Linked DNA regions of Homo sapiens: region 1 is linked to region 2. The links are contacts of gene promoters, found by promoter capture Hi-C in blood cells and fetal thymus (Javierre and others, 2016). All regions are on one chromosome and are shown on one strand. Each heading gives the region's core, a stretch centred on a gene start or on the middle of the fragment in contact. The rest is flanking DNA. Distances are from core to core; before and after follow the strand shown. Region 1 overlaps ABLIM1 (actin binding LIM protein 1). Region 2 holds the start of TRUB1 (TruB pseudouridine synthase family member 1).

What was found. The method cuts DNA at HindIII sites, captures the fragments that hold promoters and counts their contacts. A CHiCAGO score of 5 or more calls a contact.
Region 1: a fragment that was not itself captured here is called in contact with the fragment with the promoter of TRUB1 in region 2 in 4 of 17 cell types (naive CD8 T cells, total B cells, total CD8 T cells and 1 more); the score reaches 6.7 in naive CD8 T cells.

The regions. Positions count from the first base shown.
Region 1 is chr10:114,521,147-114,527,136 of GRCh38, reverse strand. All of the region lies in intron 6 of ABLIM1 (actin binding LIM protein 1), which reads left to right. Among named protein-coding and RNA genes, the nearest start is that of AFAP1L2, 120 kb to the right of the region's middle. RefSeq lists enhancers at 1-218, 389-508. The HindIII fragment of the contact is 2,440 bases long and covers 31-2,470 here.
Region 2 is chr10:114,936,049-114,941,997 of GRCh38, reverse strand. TRUB1 (TruB pseudouridine synthase family member 1) reads right to left here and starts at 3,803. Exons shown (of 8, transcript NM_139169.5): 1 at 3,459-3,803. The coding sequence starts at 3,744. RefSeq lists an enhancer at 3,432-3,971. The HindIII fragment of the contact is 6,581 bases long and covers 1-5,342 here.

The DNA of each region.
Region 1 (5,990 bases), core at 1-2,500, 410 kb after region 2:
AAGCCTAAGAATCTCGTTTCAGTACAAGCTTATGCCTCAGGGACAATCACTGTCGGTTTCACATGCAGACAATAGTGAGTGAATGCAAAGAAATGGTACTTTCCTACCTGCATTTAAAAAAAGAAAGAAAGTAAATCTACTCCCCCTCCTTTTTTGGGAACATGGACTGGCCCATTGTGGTTGCTGGTGTGTTGAACTAGTAAGTAAAGCGAGGAGAGGAGGCGTGAGAGAGCGTGCCTGCCCGCCGCACACGGGGCTGGTTTCCGGAGTGCGTCTCTAGAGGGATGCACGTTGCCTTAGCCGAGCTTCGGAGAGAAGCCTGATATGTAACCCAGGCAGGTGGGAGCCTCAGTCTGTCGGGCTGAGGTCTGGCATCTACAAAGCCTCTTGGCCGTGTTCTGAACTTGAAGCCTGGAGGAGTTCTCTGCTCAGCACAGCCAAGGAACAGAATTAGAAGAAAAGGAACCCTGGCCTGAGGTAAAGCGGACATTGCACAAGGTGACCTATGTCCTTTGCTTTGCGTGGCAGATGTGAGATTTCTGGCTTCCTTCGTGAGGTCGGAGGCCGCTCGGATCCTCCAAATGTGGTGGCTGGATGCTGGCGACAGAAGTCACTTTTATTGCCCTGACATACATTTATGTAAACTTTTTGTTTTCCTGATGATACAAAAGAAACGACAGGAGCTTTTGTTCATCGATACAGAACTAGACTGAAGGGCAGGAAAGGCTGGTTATTTATTTCACTGAGAAGTGTAGTGCGTTGACCTTTTAAACAAGGCTTATGTTTTTTTAGGCTGCTACCCGCAAGATTGAAAGGAGACTGTGGTTTTCAGACTTTGGGGTTGTTTTGTTTTGTCTGTGGTTTGTAGAGCTCTGTGAAATTTACATTTGAGTCCTGTTTGGGGGATTTGGTGGTGGAAGTGGCACGTGGGAATGAGTAGATTTAGCTATTACTGTAAATTATGAGATTTTTTTTTCTTTAAGAAATACCCAATAAATGAAAATAAGGAAACAAAATGTTTAGATGTTATTCATGTTTTATTGCGGCTCTAGGTTGAAAGAGCTTGACAATTGCCTCTCTTTCCACCTTTGATATGCAGTAAAAGAAATCTAGAGATTCTGGCCTTTATATTGAAAATAGTTTTCCTAAAAACCCAGTTATTAATCGAATCATACTGTAAAGACTTTTTTTGGGGGGAAAGTGTTTTAAAATGTGCTATACTAGCATGAAAGAAGAAATGGGACCAGAAAGTTATTTCATCTGTGAAAAAAATAGATTTATGATGTTGGAAAAGAAAAAAAGAAAACGTGAGTTTGGCCATAAGCCAGCAGGAGTGTGGTCGCTATAGCAGCTTCATTTGTCACTTAGCTGAGATTGGAGACTTAAAAGAAAACTGAGCCTGTTTTTCTCTCAGACAGCCTCATAAGGAATGTTAAGAGGATGTGAAGTTATTTAGATTACCAAAACAGGTTCTGACAAGTAAGTGAAAATAACTCATTAAAATATAATTGTTGCCATTCTATAAATGGATCAAAAGGCTTGTTGAGTCACTGCGTACTTATAGAATAGGTGAATTTGCCACGGCTCATTGGTATAAATTACTTTTGAGAAGGCTTTTTAAGACTAAGCGTGAGGCCTTGCCAAGCATCCCTTATAACACTTAGAATGTTTTGACCAATGTTTTCGAGGCGGTTGCCTAAGCATTTTCATGTGTCAGTGAGTCTAATCCTCGCATCAGTGGCTTATCCAGTAAGCTCAGGGAATATTATATCCTGACAACAGAAGCCTGCAGATTTTTCTCTTCAACTAAACAATAGCTCACCTAAAAGGACAGAAAGTGAACTACTCAGTTCTTGTAACCTGACTTTCTGGAGGGATGGTCATGATTTTGGCTCCTGTAGAACAGGGTTTCTCAACCTCAGCATTATTGACATTTTGGATGGGATTATAGTTTGTTGCAGGGGACTGTCTATGGGATGTCTAGTAGCATCCTTGATCTCTACACACCAGGCGACAGTAGCACTCCCTCCCCAGCTGTGAGAACCAGAGATATCTTCAGACACTGTTAAATATTCCCTGTGGGCAAAATGCCCCTGGTTGGGAATCACTGCTAGAGGGAAACCTGTCTTGGGGCCTACTGCTGCCAACGAGGGGGAAGGGTCTATGAGAGGAGGCTGGAGTCCCAGGGAGGCCTGGCGGGGTCCAAGGAACAGTGGCAGGACAGGTGTTTTTGCCTGACCATTTGGTTTTTATTTTGTTTGGGTTTTGTCTGAAATCACATCTTGGGAATGGGGTATCAGATTCAAGGACTTGCTGCGGATATACATTCTTCTGCCCCCTTTTCCTTCTGTGCCCTTGTGGGACTTATTTTATACAGTGCTATGATTGGTATAGTAGTCAAACTTCTTTCAATTGAATTCTAAAGTGCATTCTGGGGATATACTATTTTGTCTTTTTTTAAAAAGAAGCTTATACAGTGATCCATTTTATAAAGCAAATAGTTACCCATACTTTTCCCTTCTGTAAATATAGAGTTTTTTGTTGTTGTTGTTGTTTGTTTGTTTGTAATGTGGGTTTTTAGTAAATCTGGCCATGCCTGTTAGTTTTTTTTTCTTCTAGAATCTGCAAGTGAATGCTTTCATTTCTTTTTTCTTTTCGCCATCTGTACCAGTGGGTCTCAAACTGTTTTGATTTTTTTAGGAATTGGGCCTTGTTTTGTGAGTGCAATTGAAGAATCACAGCTTTTTTCCAATTTACAGATAACGATGAAGTCAATGGCTGGGATTTTTTCCGTTTAAAATTTTTCTTACACCTTTAGCATTAATGCTACTGCTTGTTTGCTCTCAAAGGTTTACAGATTACAAAATGCATGAAGCTGCGAGTGCTGCTTTTTCTTGGTGTTTCTCCAAGAATATAGTACATTGCACTGAGCACCGTGACTTCCAGGAGCTACCACCACCACCCAAACCAGATGAGATGTACCACTGCATAGTGCTTAGTGGTGCTTAGCATTGGCTGAACAGATAGGGAAACACCTTGACTTATTGAAGTCTATTCTTGGTGACAGACCTGGACTGGCCCATAATGTTATCAGAGAGCTGTGGTTTCTGCTTTTGATTGCAAAGCAAATCTTGCATTTCTCTCCACCTGGAGGTACCAATGTGACACACACCATGTGCTCTCTAAGTAACAGTTCTTCGTAATTAAAATTCACCCTCTCCCCCCATTCAGTAGACCAAAGATCCCTGAGTGCAGCAAATGTGAGCATTTTAGGTCTATTTGCCCCCAGGATATAGCACAGTGCCTGCTCATACTATTTGCTCAGTCATTGATGAACAGACAAATGAATGTCAATGATTTCTATGGAAAGACCACCCAGGAGCTTGGTCAGCAAGCCACATGTCTGCAGCCTGTGTCCATATTTCTGTAATTTTTTAAAGAGGACAAATCCAGTCACCATCTAAGCAGGTTTTAATGTCTGAGGGGCTACCAGAAAACTCTTTGAAGGATGCAGGAAGAGTGGGTCTGTGGGTTGTAGAATTTGGGCCTTCATAAGGCCCAGAAATTAAATTTCTGCTCTTATTATAAACCCCACAGGTTAATGCTTCTTCATGGTTTCAATAAGATAAAGAGCACACTAACCATAGGGTCTGACCCAAAGGCAAGGTATTTACCACCTCTTTAAGAAAACTCGCCAGTTGAAAGAGCTTATGATCAGAGGTGAAAAAACGGCCCTTGTTGATCTATGTGTCCTGTGGGGAGTCAGGTGGTGCTGCCCAGAGAACCTACCTGGTTCTCTGAACCAGGTTATCAGGGCAAGGGGGGTGCAGATGGGGCAGATGTCTTGAAATTGGAAGTTTCCAGACTGTGCAGAATGTAAAGATGCCGTAGTGAGAGACAGAGAAGCCAAAGATCCTCTCAATCTCTTGCTTTGGTTCACAAACCAACCCCAGCTCCATGGATTTTTTTGTTTTGTTTTGTTTTTTGAGATGGAGTCTTGCTCTGTCACCCAGGCTGGAGTGCAGTGGTGCAATCTTGGCTCACTGCAACCTCCACCTCCTGGGTTCAAGCGATTCTCCTGCCTCACCCTCCGAGTAACTGGGATTACAGGTGTGTGCCACCATGCCCGGCTAATTTTTTGTGTTTTTAGTAGAGATGGGGTTTCACCATGTTGGCTAGGCTGGTCTTCAACTCCTGACCTCAAGTGATCCACCCGCTTCAGCCTCCCAAAGTGCTGGGATTACAGGCGTGAGCCACCGCACCTGGCCTAGCTACATGCTTCTAAGCAGAGCCCTGGGAATGAGCAAGCGTGAGCCTTTCTTGTACCTTAAGCTGCAGAGGCTTAAGGTGCAGCCTTTGACGGGAGGGGACCTTCATCAAAGAGGAAACAAACCCTGCTGCTTTATTATTCGCCAAGCCTGGAATGTTTTTAGCAAATACGTGTTTGTGTCCTTCTCAGCATTGCTGGTTCACACTGAGGCCATTTGTTGCTCATAAACACTAGATGAAGCAAAAATACTTGTTTACACTTAAGACTGCTTTTATCTTTCCTTACTGCTGAATAGTAATTTTTTACTAGATTGTCTTGGTTCTGTGCAGCTGGTTCCTTATGTCTGTGCTCATATCCGTATACCTTGTCCAAATAAACATACTTGAAAACATAGAGAATTGTGTTTTGTGAAGTTTAGAACATCCTCTAACAGAGTTTAAGCTGAGCTTTCTGCTTTGTTTTGGCAACTTGTTTAGGATGCCAAATGTATCTGGTCTGGCAACAGATGAAAGAAGATGTTGGCCCTTATATAACGAAGTTTAGGGAATAAGTGGGGGGTGGGGTGGATTGCCAGGTTTCCTTTGTGGTTTGAAAAGAGTTCTAAAGCATGAGGAAAACATGTGTTCGACTGGGTTTTTGTTTTGCCTTTAAACCTTGGAATTTTGAAAATCTGTTGAAATATCTTCTCCTGGCTTATGCAGCCCTCTGAGATTAAGTTTCTGATTACCTACATCTTCCCTCCTCTTTCATTCCAGCCCTGCTAGCCTTCTTTCTGCCCCTCAAGCACAGACACTGTCCATCTCTGGGCTTTCACTGCTCCCTGAGCCTGGCACATTCTTCCTCCAGATCTTGGCTTCCTTCTCATTATTCAACCTGCCTCTTTTGACTTGGAGAGGTATCCTCTAATCACCTAGCTAAAGTTGCTTCCACCTGCCCAACCCCTAGGCCATCTTCTCTCCCCTGGTTCTGTTTTAGGTTCTTCATGGCACTGTTCCCCGACTATCTGGAATTCTTATCTGCTTGTATCCATGTCTAGTATCTGTCACTCATTGCAAGAATGTATGCTTATGACAGGTACTATCATATCCCCGAAACTAAAACATCATCTGATAGAAGGTTGGTGCCCAATAAGAGGATGAGTGGATGGATAGAAGGATGGATGAATGGGAGGGAAAAGGAGAGGGAAGGAAGGAAAGAAGGAGCGGGGAAAGGAGGGGGGTTGACTACCGAGTAAATTTCTACTCTCTTTTAAGTCTAAGAGCTTCTCTCCTGTGATTCCTCTTTGACTCCCCAAGACAGTAGCCTTGGAGAATTTTCTCCCCACACCCACCTCACTTTGTACATTACACTAACCATCTTATCCAGTTACAGTCACCTGTTTGCTAAGCTCTGCATACTAAGCTCTTGAGGACAGGAATGTGTAATAAAGGTGGTTATGGTTGTAATTATTGTTTGTTCTTATTGCCTTAGCACTTTATAAGCATACTTCATCAAAGTCCTTTCATCAACTCTATGGCTTGAGTATGACTCTCATCTTTGTTTTGCAAGTAAGTAAACTGAGGCCCAGAGCAGTTGCCGAAAGGCGTACAGATGATTACTGCAGGGCCAGGAATTGAATACAGATTTCTTCTTGGTAGCGCAGATTATACAGCCTTTCTTTCCTCCTCATCAGGTGTCCAGTGCCTGACCCACAGGTTCATCACAGGCTTTTGCCAAATGA
Region 2 (5,949 bases), core at 2,554-5,053:
CCTGGCTAACACGGTGAAACACCGTCTCTACTAAAAATACAAAAAATTAGCCGGACGTGGTGGCGGGTGCCTGTAGTCCCAGCTACTCAGGAGGCTGAGGCAGGAGAATGGTGTGAACCTGGGAGGCGGAGTTTGCAGTGAGCCAAGATCACGCCACTGCACTCTAGCCTGGGCGACAGAGCAAGACTCCGTCTCAAAAAAAAATAAATAAATAAACAAAGGAAGCGAATCTCAACAAAACGTTATGTGGAAAGCAGCTAAGATTAAGTTGCACCTTAACTTCCTAAGCATTTAGATTTTTAAAAAGAGGATGCCAGCCCGGCTTATCTCATATTCCTGTTGTAAACATAAAGTGAGCCGGGCACAGTGGCTCATGCCTGTAATCCCAGCACTTTGGGAGGCCGAGATGGGTGGATCACTTGAACCTGGAAGTTTGAGACCACCCTAGGCAACACAGGGAAACCCTGTCTCTACCCAAAATAAAATACAAAAATTAGGTGGGCATGGTGGTGTGCACCTATAGTCCTTGCTACTGGGGAGGCTTAGGTGAGAGGACTGCTTGAGCTCAGGAGGCAGAGGTTGCAGTAAGCCAAGACTGTGCCACTGTATTCCAGCCTGGGCAACAGAGTGAGATCCTGTCCTGTTTAAAAAAAAAAAAAAGATAATGCAAAATAATGTTACTTGAAAGTACTTTGGGGAGACAGAGCCAGTGCTTCCTTCTGGATAAATATAAATTGTTTTTGATGATGGCATATAACATACTGAGAGAGTATTGGCTATTAGACTTCAAGTGAGAAAGAAGAGAAAAGCAGGAACTGCTACATTGATCTATACCTGCCCCCAAGCCCATCAAACCTTCCTTATCAACACTGACACTGAGCAGAAAGAAAATAAAGCAAAGAAAACGAAACGAGTGGACAGAGAAGGGAGGAGGGAAAACAAAGCAACAGTGGAAATGCAGAAGCCAGATTAAATGGCCAAAAGGATATGCTGGGTGGCTCGGCCTCCCAACAAAATTACCACTCTACTGAGTCAGAACCATGGTCTCTGGAACACCCTGGCGTCATTCCCTAATTATGACATCACCATACTTAGAAGGGTATGGTTGTCTGCTTTGACATAAACTTCTAAGGCCAGACCTCAGTTTCAAACCCTTGATCTGTCACTTGCAATCCATCATGGATCTCTCACTCATAAATTAACAGAAACCTTTTGGGGAACTCTTTACATTTTCAACTTGACACCCCTTGGAGTAAGAAGGCCCCATAAATATACTATCTTCCCTTTGTGCCCAAATATACCTCCTTCTAACTTGCAGACGTACTGCCTCTACTATATAAAGTGGGGAATTTGGTTCACCCCACTGAACTAAGTATTCGTGGATTTTTATTATTTTCTAGCTATAAAATTCTGGTACACTTAGGGCTTTGAAGGATCCCAACAGACAAACAGTAGAGATTGTAGCATAATAGGAATCAATGCAAAGAAAGACAAGGAATGGTATTAGAGGACACAACCACTGATCATGGTTGTCAAACATGGCATTAGAATGTAGGTATCTTTAAGAACCTTCCCAAGGCCGGGAGTGGTGGCTCATGCCTGTAATCCCAGCATTTTGGGAGGCTGAGGCGGGCAGATCACCTGAGGTCGGGAGTTCGAGCCCAGCCTGACCAACATGGAGAAACCCCGTCTCTACCAAAAATACAAAATTAGCTGGGCATGGTGGTGCATGCCTGTAATCCCAGCTACTTGGGAGGCTGAGGCAGGAGAATCACTTGAACCCAGGAGGGGAAGGTTGCAGTGAGCCGAGATCTTGCCATTGCACTCCAGCCTGGGCAACAACAGCGAAACTCCATCTCAAAAACAAAAACAAAAACAAAAACTTCCCAAGCAATTCTGACAGCCAATTACAATGACATTTGGAAAGCCCTAGCCTAACTAACATAAATACAAAATAGGCCAATCACAAGCAATATAGAAATCGAGGATAATGAGAATGTCTCTAGCTAAAGGTTCTAGCCTAGCAAGAGCCTTGAAACATTTTAACCAAGATTCAACAAGAAACTTCAGTTCTTAGAGGCAGATTAGCCAGAAGGCCAGAATATGGCTTTGTCAGAAACTTGTCTGAAAGAATGGTAATCATTACCTTAAGGATAAAAAAAAAAAAAAAAGAAAAGAAACCCAGAGTTTAGCTAACAAATCAGGAAAGCAGCAGTTCTATGAAGGAAAACTAAAAAACTATGATGATACCACAATACATATCCTTGATGCAATTCCTCACTTTGACGTCCTCTGTATGACCCATACTTTCAGGCAACAAAGCAAAACTTTAATAAAAGAATAAGTAGTCGTGATACTGGAATTAAACATCTGCAGGAGTGTACCTATTTGCCCATAAACACTTAAATCTGTACTGTCAGTTATAATTCCCATCAGAATAATTTGTTTTTGCATTTTTTTAAAGTGTAAAGTTTTCCATGGGACACTAAACAATGTAAGAAAGTCCCTGTTACTGGTTTAATGGCGAGACAGAATACGGCCAAACTCTGGAGGGCCTTGAATAACCTAACTAACTAGTTTTACCACCACAAGGTGCAGAAATTACTAGGCTATCAGCTCAGTTAAGGTAAGAGAGTTATCTTTCATCTTCAAGTCTCTATAGGCTAGCACAGACCTGGCTTATTGTATATGTCCAATGAACTTAAGGATCCTGGATGCTTTATGTGTGAAATCATCCGAGCTGATTAACGGGGTGATTCTCTAGGCTTTTCTACTATTTTCCCAGTGTACGTGAATAAACGAATCAATAAAATGAACACTCTCAGCTTAGTGGCCAAGTTATATTTAGTGTTCCTCAAATGTGGTCCATAAACTACTTACACTGGAATCACCTGGAGCAACTATTTAGAATTGCAGTTTCCTAAAAATACCCCGAACTCTCCGAATCACAATCTCGGACAGGGCAGGGATTAGGAATCTGTATTTGTACAAGAGACTCTAAGTAATTGTTAGGCCCATTAAAATGTGAAAACGACTATATTAAGTCTTGGTTAACGAAGTATATCTGCATTTCCAATACATTTTGAGGAATGCAACTTTAGGGGTGCAGAACCAGTACTTCCTTTTGGGGTTCATCCACATGAACCCAACAAAAGCCTCCTGAGGGATCGATCAGATTACAGAAAACAGGTCTGCACGCCCAAGGGCAGGGTTTTATTGTGTAAGTACGGGATTTTTTTCCTCCCGTTGAGAACTACAACTGCCAAGTAGGCTACAAGAGTTCGTGCCAGGGCAAGTCCAAGCCCGAGATGCCCGAGATTCCTGTCCAGAGCTAATTCAATGGTCAGTCTCCCTTTCCCCTCCTTTTGTCTCTTGAATCACGAGCGTCGCAAAAAGCCTAATGTGCTTCCCCTCTCGCAGCGACCGCCTCAGCCTGGTCCCCACCCGGGCTGCAGTACCTGCCAGCAGCTTCTCCTTCAACCGATTCAGCAGCTCGGCTGAAGTGGGCCCTTTGGGCTTGTGCACGGCGAACACGCCGCTCAAGGACAGCAGCTTGGTAGCCAAAGCGGCCTTGGAGACCCTGGCTTCGGATCCGGTCCTGGCCGCGGCCGCAACCACCGCGGCTGCAGCCCTTGCTGACGGGGTCGCAGCCATTGCTGCGACCGTTCCTGCAGTTTCAAGGACAGGGGATGTGTCTGTTTTCAAAGACGGCGAAGACACCACCGCCGCCTCAGAAGCGGCCATACTTTTGTAGCCCAGACCTGTTTCATCGTGGAGGTGCACGCTGATGATGCAACAAGAGTGCGCCTGACAGGACCCTCTTCCTCATACCGCGAAGCTGCGCAGAACGGAGAGGTCGCACGGACTTGTGGGAATTGTAGTCCATGGCCTTCCCATATAGACCAAGAGCTTGCTGTGCCCTTGGACTTTAAATAGAAAATTTTAAATGTTGACTTTTCCTGAGGCTTGTGAAGATCCATGGCTTCCTGGGCTCACTGCTTCATTGATTGTATTGTGCTCTTACATTCAGGTTCAGAATTAGAAGACATCCAAATGTGAGCTCTATTAGAGCAAGGAACTTATGTACCACGTTAACTGAGACATTCCCAAATGCCTCACATGTTGTAGGCACTTAAATAAATATTTGAAAACGTATAAATAAGTATGAATTCTTCAAATTCCCCGAAGAAACCAAGCCAATGGTAAATCACTTGTGCTTATTTTGATGCTCTTCATGCACTCCTGTTCACCCTCCCCAAACCCCCACTGACCCCACTACAATTTTTAATAATTCTGATTTTGAATATCAGCTCTTCTGTGGGTTGAATTCCTTAGTACACTTTGTTTAGATATCAAAAGGTATTCTTGCAATTCATAAACTTTAAACCACTTCCCATTTGAGACCTTCTCCCTAAAAGTTATTCACTCCCTAACAAGATTGAGGAATATTGTTTTGATTCCAGCACAAGGCAGAGTGGAGAAAAATTACTTCTGCACCAGAAACATTAAATGCTATCATAACTATTGTGAGACAGATAAAGTTTGCCCTCATTGTTTTTTAGGTTTCTTTACAACCACTCTTTGTCCTCATCATACTCTTGGACTTTAATATCTAGTATTTTAGTGATGCCCCTTAGCTGCTCACAATCACCAGTTATGGGGTCCCATTTGAACTTGCACCCATTCGTGCAACAGACACATGGCAGAACAATTTATTAAAAGGAAAAAAAAATCTTTGAGGGAGTTTTTTCAGGGTGGAAAGCTGAAACTCCTAGAAGGAAGTCACTTACTCTTGTGGTCTATTATAAAAGCCTAAGCTAACTGAAAAGATTGGCATATCACAGGATTAGTGGACACCTGGCCCTGCTTCAAGATGTTAATTTTTCCACAAAGATGTTGTGACTTCAGAAGGGATGACTGCACCCAAAGGAGCATGGTGTCCATTAGCCTCAGGAAAGAGTTCTCTATTCTTGTGCCATGGAAGCAGAGAGCCAGGGACTTGCAGGGAAGGTTGCAAGGCTTGATCAATGATGACTTGGATGACTCCAAGGCACTTGGAGATTAGAGGCCTTTTCCCAATTGTCCGGACATCAGCAAGCCTCCCTATTTCTCTTGTGGCTCTGGGGGTGAGGGATGCAGAGGGAGAACAGAACTAGGGGTAACATATGATGCTTATATTTGAATTTTCCATCAGCCCAGTGTAGGACCAGAGTTAATCTGATTTAAAGAAAATGAAGAAATGTATATTTCTTGCATGTTTGATTTCTGGGATGCTAGGACACAACAAAATTAATGCTACTCTGCTATTATATCGGCATTCTTGGGATCAGAAGCACCAAGCTTTGTTTTTCTAAGGTAATCAACATCTCCCACATTGGGCAGGCCTTGAATTCACAGGTTTTTTTTGCTCCAATACATGTATGAGTTTGGGCTCTTTGGTCAACAGAAAACTGATTCATACCAGCTTGGGGGCACAGGGGGAGAAGATTTATCAGAAATACACTGACACACTATTCAGAACCTAGAAAGTTCTCTGTCTCTAGCTGCACATCCTTCTTTTATGCTACTCACTTGTGTCTTTTTTTTTTTTTTTTTTTTTTTTGAGACAGAGTTTCACTCTTGTTGCCCAGGCTGGAGTGCAGTGGCACAATCTCAGCTCACTGCAACCTCCGCCTCCCGGGTTCAAATGATTCTCCTGCCTCAGACTCCTGAGTAGGTGGGATTACAGGCATGTGGCACCATGCCCAGCTAATTTTGTATTTTTAGTAGGGACGGGGTTTCTCCATGTTGGTCAGGCTGGTCATGAACTCCCAACCTCAGGTGATCCGCCTGCCTCGGCCTCCCAAAGTGCTGGGATTACAGGCACGAGCCATCACGCCTGGCCCACTTGTGTCTTTATTCCTCTTTCCTGTTTCTAACAGGCCTTTTATTCTAACTCTTCATTCCACA